Regions from separate parts of the Homo sapiens genome. Here region 1 is linked to region 2. Evidence: promoter capture Hi-C in 16 types of primary human blood cells and fetal thymus (Javierre and others, 2016). All regions are on one chromosome and are shown on one strand. Each heading gives the region's core, a stretch centred on a gene start or on the middle of the fragment in contact. The rest is flanking DNA. Distances are from core to core; before and after follow the strand shown.

Region 1 (4,049 bases), core at 946-3,445, 770 kb before region 2:
AGCTCTGCATTGCCCACTGAATGGTGAGAAATTCAGAAGGATGTTGCATTCCCTTTGTTTTCCCTTTCCTCCAGCTCCAGGCCAGGCTTCTGTCCCTTAGGAGACATAATCCCACCTGGGCTGAAGCACCCCAGGACGCAGGCACTTCCCTTTACCTGTTCAGGCTACCTTTACCCTCTGTTTTCCCAACACAGGTAGCCACCCAGTAATTACTACTAGTCACAGCAATATAAAAACTTTATTGAGTGCTTTCTATTTGCTACAACCTATTCCCCTGATGGACTGTCAAAGCTGTGGGCAGGGATTTTGTTCTCTGCTGTAATCCCAGCACCTATCACAGTGTCTAGCCCAGAGCGCACACTTAATAAATCAAATGAACACTTAACATGTATCAGTCTATTCAATCTTCAAAACAACAGTATGAGGTCAAGACTGTGACACCCATTTTGGAGATAAAGAAACGAAGGCATGGAAGGTTAGGTTATATAAGCTGCTCTTGTTCATGCAGGAGGTATGTGAGGGAGCCAGGGGCCGCCCCCAAACAGAAAACAGAAGCAGGATGTCAGGGCAGCTGGCTGGTGGGGAGACCGTGGGGGAAGGACAGTGGGAAGAAGGGAAGAGCGGGTGGGACTAAGGAGGCAGGAGGAGGCAGAAGAAGAAGAGTGAGACCCTGACCAGAGACGTGCTGCCTGGGGACCTGGGGCCGGGACCAGAGCGGAGCAGAGAGGAGGGGAAGGAGGATTAGCGAGAAAAGATTTCAAAAAAAGAGGCTCTGAGAAGTCTGAGGAGAGTCTGGGGAGATTGCTGGAAGAAAGGAATGGTAGGAGAGGAAGAGTATAAGGCACTAAAGAGAGGGGAGGTAGGCGCAGCCTTCAGAGGCCGGGCAGGGCAGGGAAAATCTGCCTGACTAGATGGGCCCAGGACATCTGAACAGGATGATTCCCGGACCAAGACGTGGAGGACGATCAAGGATACATTGAAACAAGGCTGAGGCCAGAGAAAGGGACATTTTCCAGTGACGAAAACAACTTTCTACCAACTTCCCCAAACTGAACTGTAGAATAAGAAACCAAGGGATTGTTGTTTAGGTCTGTGAGAAGCAGCGGGGAGGGGAAGCTGGAGGACAGGCCCAGGGACACTGACCAGGTGGGGGTAGGACTAGCTCCCTGGGAAGGCTCAGTCCCACAGCGGCTACCTGCCTAGCAGCAGGCAAAAGGGTAAAGAATGTCCCCAGGTGAGAGGCCGGGGCTTGGCCAGGGCACTGGGGACACTGTCCACTGGGTTGCCCTGCCCCATCCAGTGTCCCAGCCCATTCTCAAATACCTCCCACCATGAGCATCCCAAACCCACCACACCAGCCCATCCCCACTCCTCAACTCACTCCCCCACTTCACCAGCCGCCAAAATCCTGCCCTACAGGGTGTGCTCCACCAAGTTCCACAGGCAGCCTCGCCTCCCCACGGCCCAACACCCTCCAGGCCAGCCAGCTGACCGGAGGGACAGAATTCAGAACCGTCTGGACTCCCCGAGCACTAATCTTCCTACTCCCACTCCCTTCTTTTCCCCGCCAAATCTGCCCCACCCTGGGCCTATCTCCTGCCCACATTCCCTTGGCCGCCCACAAACTTCCACCGCTGTCAGGGGCCAGGGCTTCCTTTTACTCTCTCCCTTTCAAACTTCTCCCATTCCCCTGCCTCAGCGCAGCCCCTACTCCAAAAGGCGGATGAATGGGGAACCCCACACTGGCAGTGGCTGAGGTTAGGACCTGCAGGCCTGAGGCTGGCGCCAGGACCAGGCCCGGGCAGGAGAGGCTCGGCCCCCTCCCGGAGAGGGCCCACGCCAGCCGGAAGGTGCCTCGCCCACCAGCCCACTCTTCCCTTTGTCCCTGGTCTCACCAGTGGCAGCAGCAGGTCAGGCACGGTGGAGAGGCCCATGCCAGACAGCTATGGCCTCTCACTCCCCCATTTGGGCTCAGGGCAGTGTGGCAGCGGCAGTGCTGGGGCTTCCCGGGACTCGGTCTGTCCAGGACGTCCCAAGTGCCTTGGGGTGACAGTTGAGGGTTGAGACTCGGGCATAGAGATCACGGCCTGGTCCCAGTGATCTTGAACCCCAAAGGCCAGAACTGGAGCCTCAGTCCAGAGAATTCTGAGAAAATTAAAGCAGAGAGGAGGGGAGAGAAGGTGGGAGGGGAAGAGTGAGGCAGTGTTGCAACAGCGGGACAGGAAGAGCTGGAGGAGGAGGCCACAGGAGGCGGGAGGAGGAGGCCCAACGTTCTTTAACTCTTTGTAGTCCAGTCACAAGCACAGGAGTCCCAGATCTGGCTGCCTTGTGCCCCCAACCCACCAATCCGACCACTCCCAACCAAACACCAAGGGGCAATAAGCCCCTTGCCCACATCACTAGCCTTTCCCAGATGGATCACAGCAGTGAAAAGATCCAGAGTCTGGGAGTCAAATTCTCTGGGTTCCAATTCAGAATGCTTAGCTTTTTAGCTAAGAATGTGTCTTGGACACATAAATGAACTTCTCAGACACATAACTGAAACTGTCTGGATCTGTTTTCCAATTTGCAGAGTGGAGATAACCTGTCTCCTGGGGTTCCTGTAAGGATTTGTTCAGATGGGAGAGATATAGATAAGCGTCCGACACATGATAGGTACTCCATGTCCCTTAGTAATCCTCCCCTTTACTCCAGAGTTCTTCACTAGCCTCCTAGTCTCCCTCTTTCTTGGGAATTTACTGATCCAATCCAAAACTCAAAGTAAGTCCCAACCCTCGTTTTCTGCCCTGACTGGGTGCCTGCCATTCCTCACCCCAGGTCTCATCCAGTCTCTGCCTGGCCAGGTCCCCCCACCCTGCCCCACTGTTGATCCTGGCTCTGCCACCAATCATGCGACATCAGGCAACTCCTCTCCTAAGCCTCTGTTGGTTCCTTGTTTATTAAACAGGGGTAACAATGTCTGCCCACCTACATGGGGAAAGTGATGCCATGAGAATCAATGAGACGTATCCACGAAGCTGCCGTGGAAATAAAGATACCTCCATCAGGTGTTCCTAGCATATTCCCAGTGCCCTTTTCCTAAATATTCCAATACATCAATTATAACTCACCTTACAGATCATCGACTACAACCCCCTAGGTTTTTTTATTTCTTCGTTTGCTTGTTTTTCATTTTTGTTTTTGTTTTGAGGGTCCGCTCCGTTTCCCAGGCTGGAGTGCAGTGGTACCATCGCAGCTCACTGCAGCCTCGACCTCCCAGGTTCAAGTAATCCTCCCACCTCAGCCTCCCAAGCAGCTGGGACTATAGGTGCATACCACCACGCCTGGGTAATTTTTGTATTTTTTGTAGAGACAGGGTCTCACCATGTTACACAGGCAGGTCTTGAACTCCTGGGCCCAAATGATCTGCCCACCTCAGCCTCCTAAAGTGCTAGGATTACAGGTGTGAGCCACCGTGCCCACCCAACTGCCCGGTTTTATAGAGGAGAAAACTGAGGTCCAGAAACCCAATGTGCCAGGAGGCAGAGCCAACAGAGAACCCCAGACTCCCGACTGCCGGTCCAAGGGCCCCTTTGGCTATGAGAGACACACTGCCACTTTTTCTGTCACTGAGTCAGACCCCACATCCTGACTCTGGTTACTTTATGCCATCCTCATTGATGCAGACATCTCCCAAGAGAATCCTACAACAAAGGTACCACATTTACCCAACTATCTTCTTGGTACAATGACCTTCCCTACATCCAGCCCCGCCCAAGGGCCTGCAGCTGCTGAGGCTGCTAGAAATGCAGGCAGACAGAGAAGAGGGAGGTCCTAGGGCTTTGGAACTTGAAACCAGAGCTCCTCACCCCTTATCCCTCTGAGATGACCTCCCAGCCCCAAGTCCACCGTCCCCTGGCTCTTCCTGGCTTCCCCTCTGTGATCCGCAGATGAGAATGGAGCTTCAGTGTCCCTCACTGCGGGGGGAGCTGACTTTACTCCACCCCATCGTCCAGCTTCTGGAGAACTGTAGGGTTGAAGCTGGATTCAGAAAGGAAGCAGCTCACCAC
Region 2 (3,721 bases), core at 34-2,533:
ATCAGCCATGTCTCTTCCTCCCCGACCTTTCCGTTCACGACATACCCGGGGAGCCTCCCTCTTGTAGAATTGAAGTTTGTGATCCTTGAACTTGAGCTTTCTCTTCCTTTCCCTCCTCCCCAAGCAGGGGTGGGGGACATGCGCTTAGGTGGTCTTTTGAATCCTATTCACAACCTCTGGAGGCTGCTTGTCCAGCATGGTCAGGGCTGGGGTCGAGCCCAGGTGTCCCTCAGTCCCTAGTCCCAGTCATCACTCAAGCCGTCACTCAAGCTTCTTTAGGCAGATACTAGAGCCCCTGCCTGCTCTCACCGCTCCCCGAGGAAGGACACTCACCCACAGCTTGGTAGGAGGCCAGAAGGCTCTTATGGAGATGGGTGGTCCCATCCTCAGAGAAGGCAGGTGTGTGGAAGGCCTTACGTTGTATGCACACACAAATGCATGTGCGCGCGCACACACACCTCTCAGAGAAGAATCTATTGCTTCCCCCATTTTGCATATAGTAATATGGAGGCAAGTTACAGACCCAAACAGGGTGTGCTCTGCATCTTTGGTTTTTCTAGGCTAGAGAGATTTAGGAGAGCCACAGTCTATGGCTACAAGGAGATGATAAGAGAGTGATGGCCAGGACAGATGCAATGTCTCAGGTACAGTCTTGAGATCAAGCCTACCTGTCTGCCACACCCCAACCCCAAACACAACTGGGGATGATCTCCCATACCCATCTTCGAGGAGTGGGCCTCTCTGACTAGGACTTCTTTCCTCCCCTGAGACCACTGAAACCTGCTCTCTCATAGAACTCTTAGGGTCACCTGGAGCACCTTGGGAGCCAGAGATGCAGCCAAAGAGTGAACAATGGTACCAATCCCAAGACCCATGTGTTAAGAAGAAACCAGCCAAGACTCAGATCAGGATTGGGGAGTCCACCCCTCGTTTCCCTTCAGAGCATTATTTCCTTGTTTGCTAAGAGGGGCAGGAACTGGAAAACTCAGGCTAGCCCATCTGAGAAGACTTTCCTGGAGATGAGCTGGAGGAGGGAGGAGTAAGGCCTTGGAAGGAAACTCCAGGACAGGTAGGGTGACCGACTGTTCTGATTTGCGTGGGACCGACGGGTTTCCCAGGACATGAGGCTTTCCGTTTTAAAATGAGGGAAGTTCTGGGCAAGCCAGGACTGGTGGTCACCCTAAATGGATAGGGGTTAAAGTGCTGGAGTGAGGCTGGGTGAGAAAGAGGACAGGGAGCCAAGAGGGTGGGGAGGCAGTGATGCACCGGCAGCCCCAGGTGACTGGGCAGTCCAGGGTCTGGATGTGGTCCCTGTTTGGGGTAATCCAGCACTCTGAAGATGAGGGCCCACCTTGGTCTCACCTAGGTGGCGTGTGCGGCTGCAGCATGAGTTAGGGTCAAGGGCAAGGGGAGGAATGGCTGGTGATGTGAGACTGGAGAAGGAGCTGATGGCTCTGTGCATAGCTGGTCACTGCAGGCCCCTGTGGGCTAGGGCTGAGCTGTGCCCCGCTGTGTTTTCAGCACCACCTCCCCTACACTGGGACCTCGTCTCTAACTGGCAGAGTGGTCAATGAAAAAAAGGGCATGCCTTGGCACATCATGGTCAAACTGCTAAAAGCCAAAGACAAGAGAAAATCTTTTCTTTTTTTTAATCCCATCCTAAAGACTAGACAGAACAATATTTTCAATGTCACTCTTTTCTCATCAAAACCAATATAGACCAGAAGACAGTGGAATATCTCTAAAATGCTGAAGGAAAAAAAAAGTCAACTCAGAATTGTTTTTCTAGTGAAAGTATTCTTCCAGAATGAAGATGAAATAAAGCTATTTTCAGATAAAAGAAAACAGAGATTCTTGTCGCCAGCAGACCTCCACTATGAGAAGCGCTAAAGAAAGTTCTTTAGGACGGGCACGATAGCTCACGCCTATAATCCCAGCATTTTGGGAGGCCAAGGTGGGAGGATTGCTTGAGCTCGGAAGATGGAGGCTGCAGTGAGCCATGACGGTGCCACTGCACTCCAGCTTGGGTGACAGAGTGAGACGCTGTCTCAAATTGGAAGAGCAGAGCTGCAGACAGGAATAAGAAGAACGGTAAATTTGAAGGTAAATATAAAATACGATTTTCTTTTTAATGTCTTTAAAATATGTAGAACTGTTCCAGGCAAAAATTATAACATTGTATTGTGAGGTTTATAACATATGTAGCTGTAACATATATGAAGACTGTAGTATAAAGCAGGGGTCCCCAACCCCTGAGCCGTGGACCAGTATTGGAGGTGAGTGGTGGTGAGCAAGCAAAGCTTCATCTGTATTTGTAGCTGCTTCCCATCACTCACATTACCATCTGAACTTCGTCTTCTGTCAGCAGCAGCAGCAGCAGCAGCATTAGATTCTCATAGGGGCACGAACCCTATTGTGAACTATGCATGGAGGGATCTAGGCTGTGTGCTCCTTATGAGAATCTAATGCCTGGTGACCTGTCACTGTCTCCTATCACCCCTAGATGGGACCGTCTAGTTGCAAGAAAACAAGCTCAGGGCTCCCACTGATTCTACATTACGGTGAGTTGTATAATTATTAATATTTCATTATATATTACAATAACAATAATAATAGAAAGAAAACATGCAATGAATGTAATGTGTTTGAACTATCCTGAAACCATCTCCCTCTGGCCCCATCCCTGGTTTGTGGAAAAACCGTTTTCCATGAAGCCAGTCCCTTGTGCCAAAAAGGGTGGGGACTGCTGGTATAGAGGACAAGGGGGTGGACTCATGGTTACAAGTTTCCTTCATTTCACATGAAGTGGTACAATAGGAACTGAGAAAACTGGAGTTTAGGATGCAGACTAATTCCCAGAGCAGCGGGTCTCCACCCTGTGGTGTGGGAAGACCCACAGGCCCTAAGATCCTTTCACGGGGTCTGTGAGGTAACAAAATGACTTTCATAAAAATACTCAGATGTTCTTTGCTTTTTTCCCTCTCATTCTGTCATGGTATATGGTGGATTTACAGAGGCTACGTGATGTGCAATGATTCATCCGTGGCAGTGAGCGGGATGCGTGCTTGTGTATCTTTGTGATTTAAAATGTTCTCAATTTTGATTTCTAGTACAGTGACTATTAATAGATATACCCTACATAAGCCAAAGCTCTCTGGAGTTCTCAATAATTTTTTAAGGGTATAAAGTTTGAGAACAGTTGCCCTAGGGTGACTACTAGTAGAAAAAAGCAAAGAAGTATAGCTGAAAGGCCGATGTAGAAATGAAAATGGATGTCTGAATTTGGGGGGACTTTTTTCTAATAGGGTAACCTATTAGAAATCATCCTGGTCTGTCTAGAAATGAGGTTTTCCTAGGACATGAGGTTTTCAACACTAAAACCAGTTAAGTTCCCCGACACGCCAGGACAGTTGGTCACCTTATTGCTAACACTTCAATCATTTACTTCAGTTCCCTTTCCCTTACCCAAGTGTCCCTAAAGAGCATAGGCCACCTCTGCTCTATGTTAAGGCCCCCAAGTGCAGGTAAGGGAGCTGGGATTCCTGGCATGCTAAGTAAAGGTAGCAAGCTACCAAATTGTAAGGATACTATGTTTACAAATATAGAAAGCACCCGTGAGAAAAATCTAAAATAACTGCTTCCTATTAGAGTATGGGGTTGTGGATGATTTAAACCATGTTTCTCTGTTTAGTAAAACTTCTTTAATATTATTTAATAACTT

What was found. The method cuts DNA at HindIII sites, captures the fragments that hold promoters and counts their contacts. A CHiCAGO score of 5 or more calls a contact.
Region 1: the fragment with the promoter of TNFRSF1A here is called in contact with a fragment that was not itself captured in region 2 in 5 of 17 cell types (naive CD8 T cells, total CD4 T cells, neutrophils and 2 more); the score reaches 7.5 in naive CD8 T cells.

What each region holds. Positions count from the first base shown.
Region 1 is chr12:6,339,881-6,343,929 of GRCh38, forward strand. TNFRSF1A (TNF receptor superfamily member 1A) reads right to left here and starts at 2,196. Exons shown (of 10, transcript NM_001065.4): 1 at 1,896-2,196. The coding sequence starts at 1,934. RefSeq lists an enhancer at 1,999-2,098. The HindIII fragment of the contact is 11,725 bases long and covers 1-4,049 here.
Region 2 is chr12:7,109,504-7,113,224 of GRCh38, forward strand. It overlaps C1RL-AS1 (C1RL antisense RNA 1), which reads left to right. Exons shown (of 12, transcript NR_026947.1): 3 at 561-644; 4 at 795-1,069; 5 at 1,522-2,103; 6 at 2,504-2,561. Among named protein-coding and RNA genes, the nearest start is that of C1RL, 2.2 kb to the left of the region's middle. The HindIII fragment of the contact is 2,030 bases long and covers 269-2,298 here.